Linked DNA regions of Homo sapiens: region 1 is linked to region 2. Evidence: promoter capture Hi-C in 16 types of primary human blood cells and fetal thymus (Javierre and others, 2016). All regions are on one chromosome and are shown on one strand. The core of a region is centred on a gene start or on the middle of the fragment in contact, and the rest is flanking DNA. Distances in the headings are between cores, read along the strand shown.

The links. Contacts are between HindIII fragments. The CHiCAGO score rates a contact against its expected background, and 5 or more counts as called.
Region 1: a contact is called between a fragment that was not itself captured here and the fragment with the promoter of PFN3 in region 2, in 1 of 17 cell types (erythroblasts). The highest score is 5.2, in erythroblasts.

Annotation. Positions count from the first base shown.
Region 1 is chr5:177,070,442-177,074,583 of GRCh38, forward strand. It overlaps a transcript of ZNF346 not described here. Among named protein-coding and RNA genes, the nearest start is that of FGFR4, 14 kb to the right of the region's middle. The HindIII fragment of the contact is 2,298 bases long and covers 1,479-3,776 here.
Region 2 is chr5:177,397,449-177,401,983 of GRCh38, forward strand. PFN3 (profilin 3) reads right to left here and starts at 3,213. Exons shown (of 1, transcript NM_001029886.3): 1 at 2,661-3,213. The coding sequence starts at 3,128. The coding sequence ends at 2,715. SLC34A1 (solute carrier family 34 member 1) reads left to right here. Exons shown (of 13, transcript NM_003052.5): 13 at 335-1,400. The coding sequence ends at 838. RefSeq lists a silencer at 432-607 and an enhancer at 4,522-4,535. The HindIII fragment of the contact is 6,138 bases long and covers 1,958-4,535 here.

The DNA of each region.
Region 1 (4,142 bases), core at 1,378-3,877, 330 kb before region 2:
AGAGGCATCAGCTCTGGAGAGGCAGTCTAGCGTAGTGGCGAAAACTCAGGTTCTGGGAAGCAAGCAGCTAAGGTTCAGATCCCAGCTCTGCCATCGCAAAGCTGCCTCGGGGTGGAACATTAGTACCTACCTCACAGGGTGATCATGAGAATTAAAAGAATAGGTGGATATGAAATAATAGTGCCTTACACATGATAAATGCTATATAAATGATAGCTGCTGCTCTTTCTATTGTTGACCTGAAGTAAGCCCTGAGTCCCCCTGGAGCGGGGGTAAGGCCACAAGCAGATGGCATCTGGCATAGCCCCATGTAATAAGATTCAGTAATCCGGTCTGACTGAGGCGGGGGGAAAAGTAGCATAGTGGCTAGAAGTGATTCTTTACTGGGGCCCAGCGAAAAGTCACCCTCCACTACTGGGGAGCCCCTGCTTATCCCAGGCCCAAGGCTCTTTGGCCAGTGACACTACTGAGGTGTCACACCTGAGGGGAAGAAATGGAATCATGCATGAAATGGAACCAAGAGGAAGTGGAAGCATACTCTTAGCCCAGAGCTAGATGCAAAGCAGCTGTTTGAATATAACAACCCACCAGTGCAGACACAGATCTAGACATGTACCTGTATAGCAGCCAATGAGGGGTGGCATGAGGGACAAGGGCCTGGGATTCAGGAGCCCTAAGTGTTGGTCTGAGCACTGCCACCAGCTATATGTGACCTGAGGCCTTGTGAAGTGGAAGTTAGAAGAAATCACAGTTCCCAGCTCAAATCCTGAAGAAGTAGCAATGAACAGGTAGAGTTTCCTCCCAGAGCCCTAAGCCAGGTGTGGTGCACGTGCCTGCAATCCCATCTGCTCGGGAGGCTGAGGCAGGAGGATCGCTTGAGCCCAGGAGTTCAAATCCAGCCTGGGCAACATAATGGGAGCCTCTTAAAAAAAAAAAAAAGAAAGAAAGAAAAAAGGGGCCAGGCGCCAGGCGCGGTGGCTCACGCCTGTAATCCCAGCACTTTGGGAGGCTGAGGTGGGCGGATCACAAGGTTAGGAGATCGAGACCATCCTGGCTAACACGGTGAAACCCCATCTCTACTAAAAATACAAAAAATTAGCTGGTCGTAGTGGCGGGTGCCTGTAGTCCCAGCTACCGGGAGGCTGAGGCAGGAGAATGGCATGAACCCGGGAGGCGGAGCTTGCAGTGAGCTGAGATCGTGCCACTGCACTCCAGCCTGGGCGACAGAGCGAGACTCTGTCTCAAAAAAAAAAAAAGAAGAAGAAGAAGAAAGCCCTTCCTTCCCTCACAGCAGTCCCTGCCAGATGAGCTGTCCCCACCCCCAAACCAGATGCTCTGATGAGCAGTCACTAGTGTAAAATACAATAGGAAGAACACTTTCTCCCTCTGACCATCCATCCACCTAACCTCACCTCTCTGCCCTGTGCAAAGCCCTGTTACAGAGACAGGGCAGACCCGTCCCCGGCCTGTCTCTCCCAAGCTTACTGTTCATATATGCTGCTTCATCTGTCTAGGAATATCAGAACGCAGTTCTGTAAATGTTCAACTCTTCAGTGCAATGACCCCATTAGCCACTAGGTGGAGTCAGCTTCTTTTTTCTAGCAAGGTAGACCAGCCCTGGGACTTTACTGTTTGATTTAATGGGAAGAGAACAGGGTGACTTCACGAGCCCCTGTATATGCTATTTCAGTTAACCCTCAGGACAACTGGCAAAGACTTGATTTCACAGGAGAAAGTCAGGGACAAAGTCTTGCAGAGCTTACACAACCAAGAAGTAGCCTTGGAGAGAGATTTGATCTTAGCACTTCTGCTCATTCCCAAGGCCGATTTCCCCTTCCCTCAGGACATTTCCCTCAGGAGGCCCTCTCTGTTTGAGGGCTGTAACTTAGTCACCTGTCTAGAAGTACACCTGATGTCAGGCCAGCTCCACAGCCCTTCTTTTCCTTTTCTCCTTTGGGTGACAAACCTGCTCCATTCTCAGATCCTGTGGTTCCGAGGGACTGGCCCTGCTCTCTGATTCCAGGAGTGAGCCTGTGACCCGACTGAGTAATCACAGTCATAGTCTTCAGCTGTTAGTGTCCAGCATGTAAGGACAGCCTGCTTCAGAACTAAGCCAACACAGAGGAGGCCGGGCTCGGTGGCTCACACCTGTAACCCCAGTACTTTGGGAGGCCAAAGCAGGCAGATTACTTGAAGTCAGGAGTTCAAGGCCAGCTGGCCAACATGATGAAACCCTGTCTCTACTAAAAATACAAAAATTAGTCAGGCGTGGTGGCGCACGTCTGTAGTCCCAGCTACTCAGGAGGCTGAGGCAGGAGTATTGCTTGAACCCGTGAGGCGGAGGTTGCAGTGAGCCGAGATCACACCACTGTACTCCAGATAAGGAGAGACTCATTTCTGATGACTACCTGGATCCAGCTATGCCTGAAGCTAATATCCCCCAGGACTTTTTAGTTATGACTTTTCTTTAAGTCAGTTGAGTTTCTATAACTTGCAACCAAGATTTCTGCCTAATACTTGCTCCAGCTCCCCTTGTCAACCTGGGGACCTCCACTCATCCAGAGATCACTGGCCCCCAAGGCCAAGTTGGCTGCCCTTTGTGTTCCCAGATGCCCTGTGTTCCCCTCTAGCATAGCCCTTAATATGCTGTGTTACGATGATCTAATTCCCTGTCTCTTCTTTTAGACTAGAAACTGCTTGAGGGCAGGAATTGGGTCTTATGATACTGCATCCCTGGTCCCTAGCATAGGACTGTGCTTATGTTTTAATAACTGCTTGGTGATTGAATACATTAATGAATAAATGAATAAAAATGGGTATGGTCTGGTAGGGACCATTGCTGGGATTTCACAGGAAAGACATTTATTTTGTTTGTTTTTTGAAACAGCGTCTCACTCTGTCACACAGGCTGGAATGCAGTGGTGCAAACACAGCTCATTGCAGCCTCGACCTCACTGACTCAAGTGATCCTCCCACCTCAGCCTCCCGAGTAGCTGGGACTACAGGCGCACACCACCACACCCAGCTAATTATCTTATTTTTTGTAGACACAAGGTCCCACTGTGTTGCCCAGGCTGGTCTTGAACTCCTGAGCTCAAACGATCCTCCCACCTCGGCCTACCAGAGTGCTGGGATTGCAGACGTGAGCCACCGCACCTGGCCGGAAAGACTTATTGAGGGAGATGATCCTCTAGTGGTCATGAAGGTCAAAGGAGCCAGGTTGCTGGGGTGGGAGGAGGCTTAGTGAAAGGAACTAGAAGAGGCGAGTTGTGGAACACAGTTGATTGTTTCAATAATGGCCTCCCATGAATCATTGCCTCCCTGTGCCTGTGTCCTTTTGCAATGTGACTTTATCATTGCTCCCATCAAGATCGGGCGGGCGGGGGAGGGGGGGGGTCCATTTCCCAGTCTCTTGAATCTGAACTAGTCTTGTGAGTTGCTTTGATCAGAGAATTCAGTAACATGACTGTACGACTTCCAAGGTTAGGACTTAAGTGCTCATGCAGCTTCCGTTCCTGACCCTGTGAAAGGAAGTTTGGGCTAGACCATGTGGCGACCACAGACCAGGTAGAGAGAGAAGCCAACAGCCAGCTCCATACATGTGAGGGAGGACATCCCAGACCCTCTAGCATAGCCAATCCACAGCATAAGCAGAACTGCCACCTGAGCCCAGCTAATCACAGAATTGTGAGAAATAATACATTGTTTTAAATAATTAAGTTTGGGAACAGTTTGTGCAGTAAAGGCTCACAGAATCACTAGGTATAATAATCAGAAGCTTCCTAGTGTCTGTTTACCCTTCTTCCTATAATAAGCTTTTCTTTGAAAAACCCCACCCTCAGCTTATGTAGTCCGGGTGGGGAAGACCTCCACTCTCCTGGCTTTTGCCAGAACAGTTGAGAAGTTGCCAAGTGGGAATGTCTCGAGCCCAGAGCTGTTAGTGGCCTTCTTTGTCACTTCTTAGGGAGCACCTGTCATAGAGAAGAAGACAGAAGAGAGAATGAGTTTTGACCATACTGTTGGGAACCAGGATCAAGCTGTTTCTGGAGCCTGATTCACACCAGGACTTACAGTCATGCTCCTGTAGTCCCAGCTACTCAGGAGACTAAGGCAGGAGAATTTCTTAGGCCCAGGAGTTCACA
Region 2 (4,535 bases), core at 1,963-4,462:
ACTGACTGAATGAGGGTCCAGAAACTGACATCAATCCTTTAGCTGCTGGATTTTGGCAGTATCTGCTGGGGGATTCCTGTGCGAGGGGTCAGTGGGGAAAATGTGGGGAGCTCAGGGCAGTAGTTATTTACCAACTGGTCTAGAAGTATTTCAATATTTGCATAGCCAGCATAGCCACCTCGGGGTGATCTCGGGGCAGGGGGCACATCACCCCTAAGTGGAAACTTTCCTGCTGCCCAGACCAGATCGGGGTTCCTATCATCTACCCCTGCTGGCCTGACACAGGACCTGGGAGCCAGTGCCCATCTCAGCCCCTCTGCCTCATCCCCTGCAGATTGCCCTCTGTCACTTCTTCTTCAACATCTCGGGTATCCTTCTGTGGTACCCGGTGCCCTGCACACGCCTGCCCATCCGCATGGCCAAGGCGCTGGGGAAACGCACGGCCAAGTACCGCTGGTTTGCCGTCCTCTATCTCCTTGTCTGCTTCCTGCTGCTGCCCTCACTGGTGTTTGGCATCTCCATGGCAGGCTGGCAGGTCATGGTAGGTGTGGGCACGCCCTTCGGGGCCCTGCTGGCCTTCGTGGTGCTCATCAATGTCCTGCAGAGTCGGAGTCCCGGGCACCTGCCCAAGTGGTTACAGACATGGGACTTCCTGCCTCGCTGGATGCACTCCCTGAAGCCCCTGGACCACCTCATCACCCGCGCCACCCTATGCTGTGCCAGGCCTGAGCCCCGCTCACCCCCGCTGCCCCCCAGGGTCTTCCTGGAGGAGCTACCCCCTGCCACACCCTCCCCCCGTCTTGCACTGCCTGCTCACCACAATGCCACCCGCCTCTAGGCTGTGGGCCCAGACTACAGCCTGGAATGGGGAAGGCCTGGGGTGGAAAGGCAGGGGAGGGAGGGTGTGTGTAGGTATGTGCATGTGCCTGTGCCACCCTGGGTGCCAGTCTCTCCTTCTGTAGCTCCGCAAAGCTCTGGGCTTGTGTGAGAGTGTCGGTGTGTGTGCATGTGTGGGGGTGAGTCTGCATGTGCACCTGTCATGTGTAGAAGCTTGTATTTGTGTACAGGTGTGCCAGCCCATGCAGGTGTACACAGACACACCTGTGGGAGGCTGTGTGCAGGCTGCAGGATATCTGGGTATGATTTCAGGTCCTCTGCACGTGTACACATGACTAGGATAGGCAGGAGTAAGGGTGGGTCTGGGTATATGACTGTGCAGCTGTTTGTGCATAGATGTTGGTGCCTGCGTTACTGAATTTGCACACCTCCTTGCCACCTTCCTTCCTCCAAGATACCATCTCCTCATCCTAACCCAGGTCTTCGGCACCACCACAATTAATTCCCTTCCCAACACTTGCCTGATGGAAAAAAAACAAAGGAATTAAAACTCTCCTCAGGCATTCGGAAGTCTTTTTGCTCTCCATCAATGGCAAAGGGAAGACCAAGCCAGGGGGTTCAGCAGCACCATCTCCCCTCAAAGACTGGCTGCAAGAGCAGCCTGCCCTGCCCAGGCCAGGTGCAGTTCCAGAGAAGCCAGCCCTGCAGGCTCACCCCAACCATCTGCCTGGCCCTACCTTAGTGAGTCCAAACCACAATTCAAACTCCCTGGAAGCCCCTCCTAGGCCTGGGGCCACCCCCAAGGCAAGTGTAAGGAGGATTCTGCACCCCCACCCCCTGACCCCCACCTGGCTGAACTTCCTCTGGTCTCCCTCTGCCCTCTAAATTCACCCACCTCAGCCACACATCACTCCTTCCTGCTGGGATAAGATCAGGGCTCCAGAATAAGTGACAGGTGGGGTCTGCCATCAGGGCCGCTGGGGGAGGGGACGGGAAGGGTGGGGGTGGGCAAGAGAGGCCATGCCCTGGGCCCCAGCACATGGAGGGCAGGGACCAGACACCCTCCCTCCCACTTTTGTCCACTATCTTTGGGCAATAAACCAGGCCTCAAACTTACCCAAGCTTTTCAATTCCCCCTCCTCCATAGGTCACCCTGAAACTGAGGCCTGCAGAGTGAGACTCCCGGGTAGGGATGCCAGAGTTCCTCCCTCTAGTCCAGGGACTCCTGCGGGGCCTTTTCGAAGGCCTGGGGAAGGCAGGATGTAAGGTCTCAAACCCAATTGCGATGGTCTTGGACATGAGCCCTCTCAGTAGGCTCCCCTTGGAGGAATGTGGGCAGAGATGCAGAGGCCTGTGAGCCCCAGAACTGCTTTACAAGCCACCAAGCCCATCCTGTCACCCACTCACAACTTGCTAGTGCTTGAGGTATGAGTGGAGGGGGGAGGAGCAAATTGGCCTCCAGCCTGACACCCTGATGGGGAGAGGTGTTCGCGGGATGGGGAGGGGGCTCCCTTTACTTGTCCTGCCTAATGTGTGGGAATATCTCTGAGAAAGGACGCTAAGGCTGAAACAGACTTTGAGAAGCCCCCACCCTTGGACTCTTCCTCAGCTGCGGAGTCCCTAGGACCCTGGGAACGCGCCAAGGAGCAGCAGTCAGGCCAGGAGCCTCTGCAAGGCGTCCATGGGAGAGCAGGGTGTAGGGCACAGGGGCCTGGCAGCCTCTAGACTCAAAATCCCGGCTCCACCAGGTAACCGTCTTGCAAAGACCAGTTTCCTTATTTACAACTCCCCCCACCGCGCAAGTGGAGGAGGAGCCAGCCGCGCCCAGGTCACAGTTTATTTGGCCCGCGCTACCAGTGGGCGGCCTGGCTGGCCGGCTAGGCGCCCTGCATGCGCAGCCCGCGTATGAGTTCGTGCACCGTCTTGTTGAGGATGCCCCCATGTACGCCGCGTCGGCCCATTAGCACCAGGAGCGCGCGCGGCGCACGGCCCACGCACACGGCGCGCGCGTCCAGCCCCTTGGTGCGTGCGTCCAGCACGCCGTCACCCTCGGCCAGCAGGTGGTCGCGGATGACGCAGCAGCGGCGGCCCCCCACGCTCAGGCCCGCCTGCAGGAAGGTGTGCCTGTCCGGCCCCGTGAGCACGCCCACCTCCTGCGGCGAGATGGCCGCCAGCAGGCCCCCGGGCCGCGAAGCCCACACGCAGCTGTTGTCCGCATGGCCCACGATGGCCACGTCGTCGATGCGCTGGTCCCGCAGCACTGCACTGATGTAGACCTTCCAGTCGCCCATCGCGCTCCGAGTGCGCCCAGCCGCCTCGCACCTCTCGGGGAAATATAGAGGCGCCACGCGGGGAAGGCCTGCGGCGCTGTGAGGCAGGCTGGGCGGGGCTGTGACGTCACACAAGGCGCCGTCCCGGAGCGACCACCCAGGCTGGGGCACGTGGGGCGTGGGCGTTTAGTGCTGTCGCAGTTCTAAGGTTATCCTGTAGGATGGGTTTGGCAGAGCGCAGCGGCTCACTCCTGTAATCCCAGCGCTTTGGGAGGCCGAGGCGGGCGGATCGCTTGAACTCAGTAGCGAGATTATAGTAAACTATTATAGGATCGTGTCGCTGCACGCCAGCCTGAGCCACAGAGCGAGGCCCCGTCTCTAAAAAAGCAAAAACAAATTTTAATTAAAAAAAATTTTTTTGAGATGAGGTCTCACTATGTTGCCCAGGCGGGTCAGGAAGTCTTGAGCTCAAACAATCCTCCCGCCTCAGCCTCTCAAAGTGACGAGATTACAGGCGTGAACCACCGCATCTGGCCAATCTATTTTTAATTTTAAAAAGCTGGTTTTGTGAAAAAAGGATGTTGTGTCTGGACAGCCAGACCTTCACTTGTAAGGGAACCAACCATTCAACCCCCAGATTGTGGTTCTTAAGCATGAGAGAACATCAGAATCCCCCGCAAGGCTGTTAAACAGATTGCTGGGCCCCACCCCAGACTTTCTGTTCAGCAGTATAAAGTGTAGCCCGAGAATTTGTTATGTGTAACAAGTTCCCTGGTGATGGTACTGCTAGCCAAGGGACTCTCAGACCCACTACACTAGTGCGTGTTGGGGTGGGGACAACGATATGTCACCCAGCCCTTAGGGTCCACGCCACAGTCAATGCTCTTTTTTTCTATTTTCTTTTTTCTTTTCTTTCTGTCTCTCTCTTTCCCTCCCTCTGTTCCTTCCTTCCTTCCTTCCTGCCGGTTCAAGTGATTCTCCTGCCTCAGCCTCCTGAGTAGCTGGGACTACAGGCGCACGCCGCCGTGCCCGGCTAATTTCTTGTATTTTAGTAGAGACGGGGTTTCATCGTGTTGCCCAGGCTGGTTTCGAACTCCTGAGCAATCCACCTGCCTTGGCCTCTTAAAGTGCTAGGATTACAGGCGTGAGCCACCGCGCCCGGCCAATGCTAAGTATTTCTAACCACGATTCTCAACCTTGGCTGTACATGGAATTATCTGGGGAGTTTTACAAATATACCACTACCCATGCCCCATCCCTAGACATACTGATTTAATTGGTCTGAGGTGGAACTTGGGCATAGATTGGCTCAAAACGCTCCCCAAGTGATCTTAATGTATGGTCTGAGAACTACTGCTCTGTAAACAAAATGTTAGTTTCTCATAAGGAATAACATGCAGCTTCTCCTTGCACAGGGCTTGGTATACA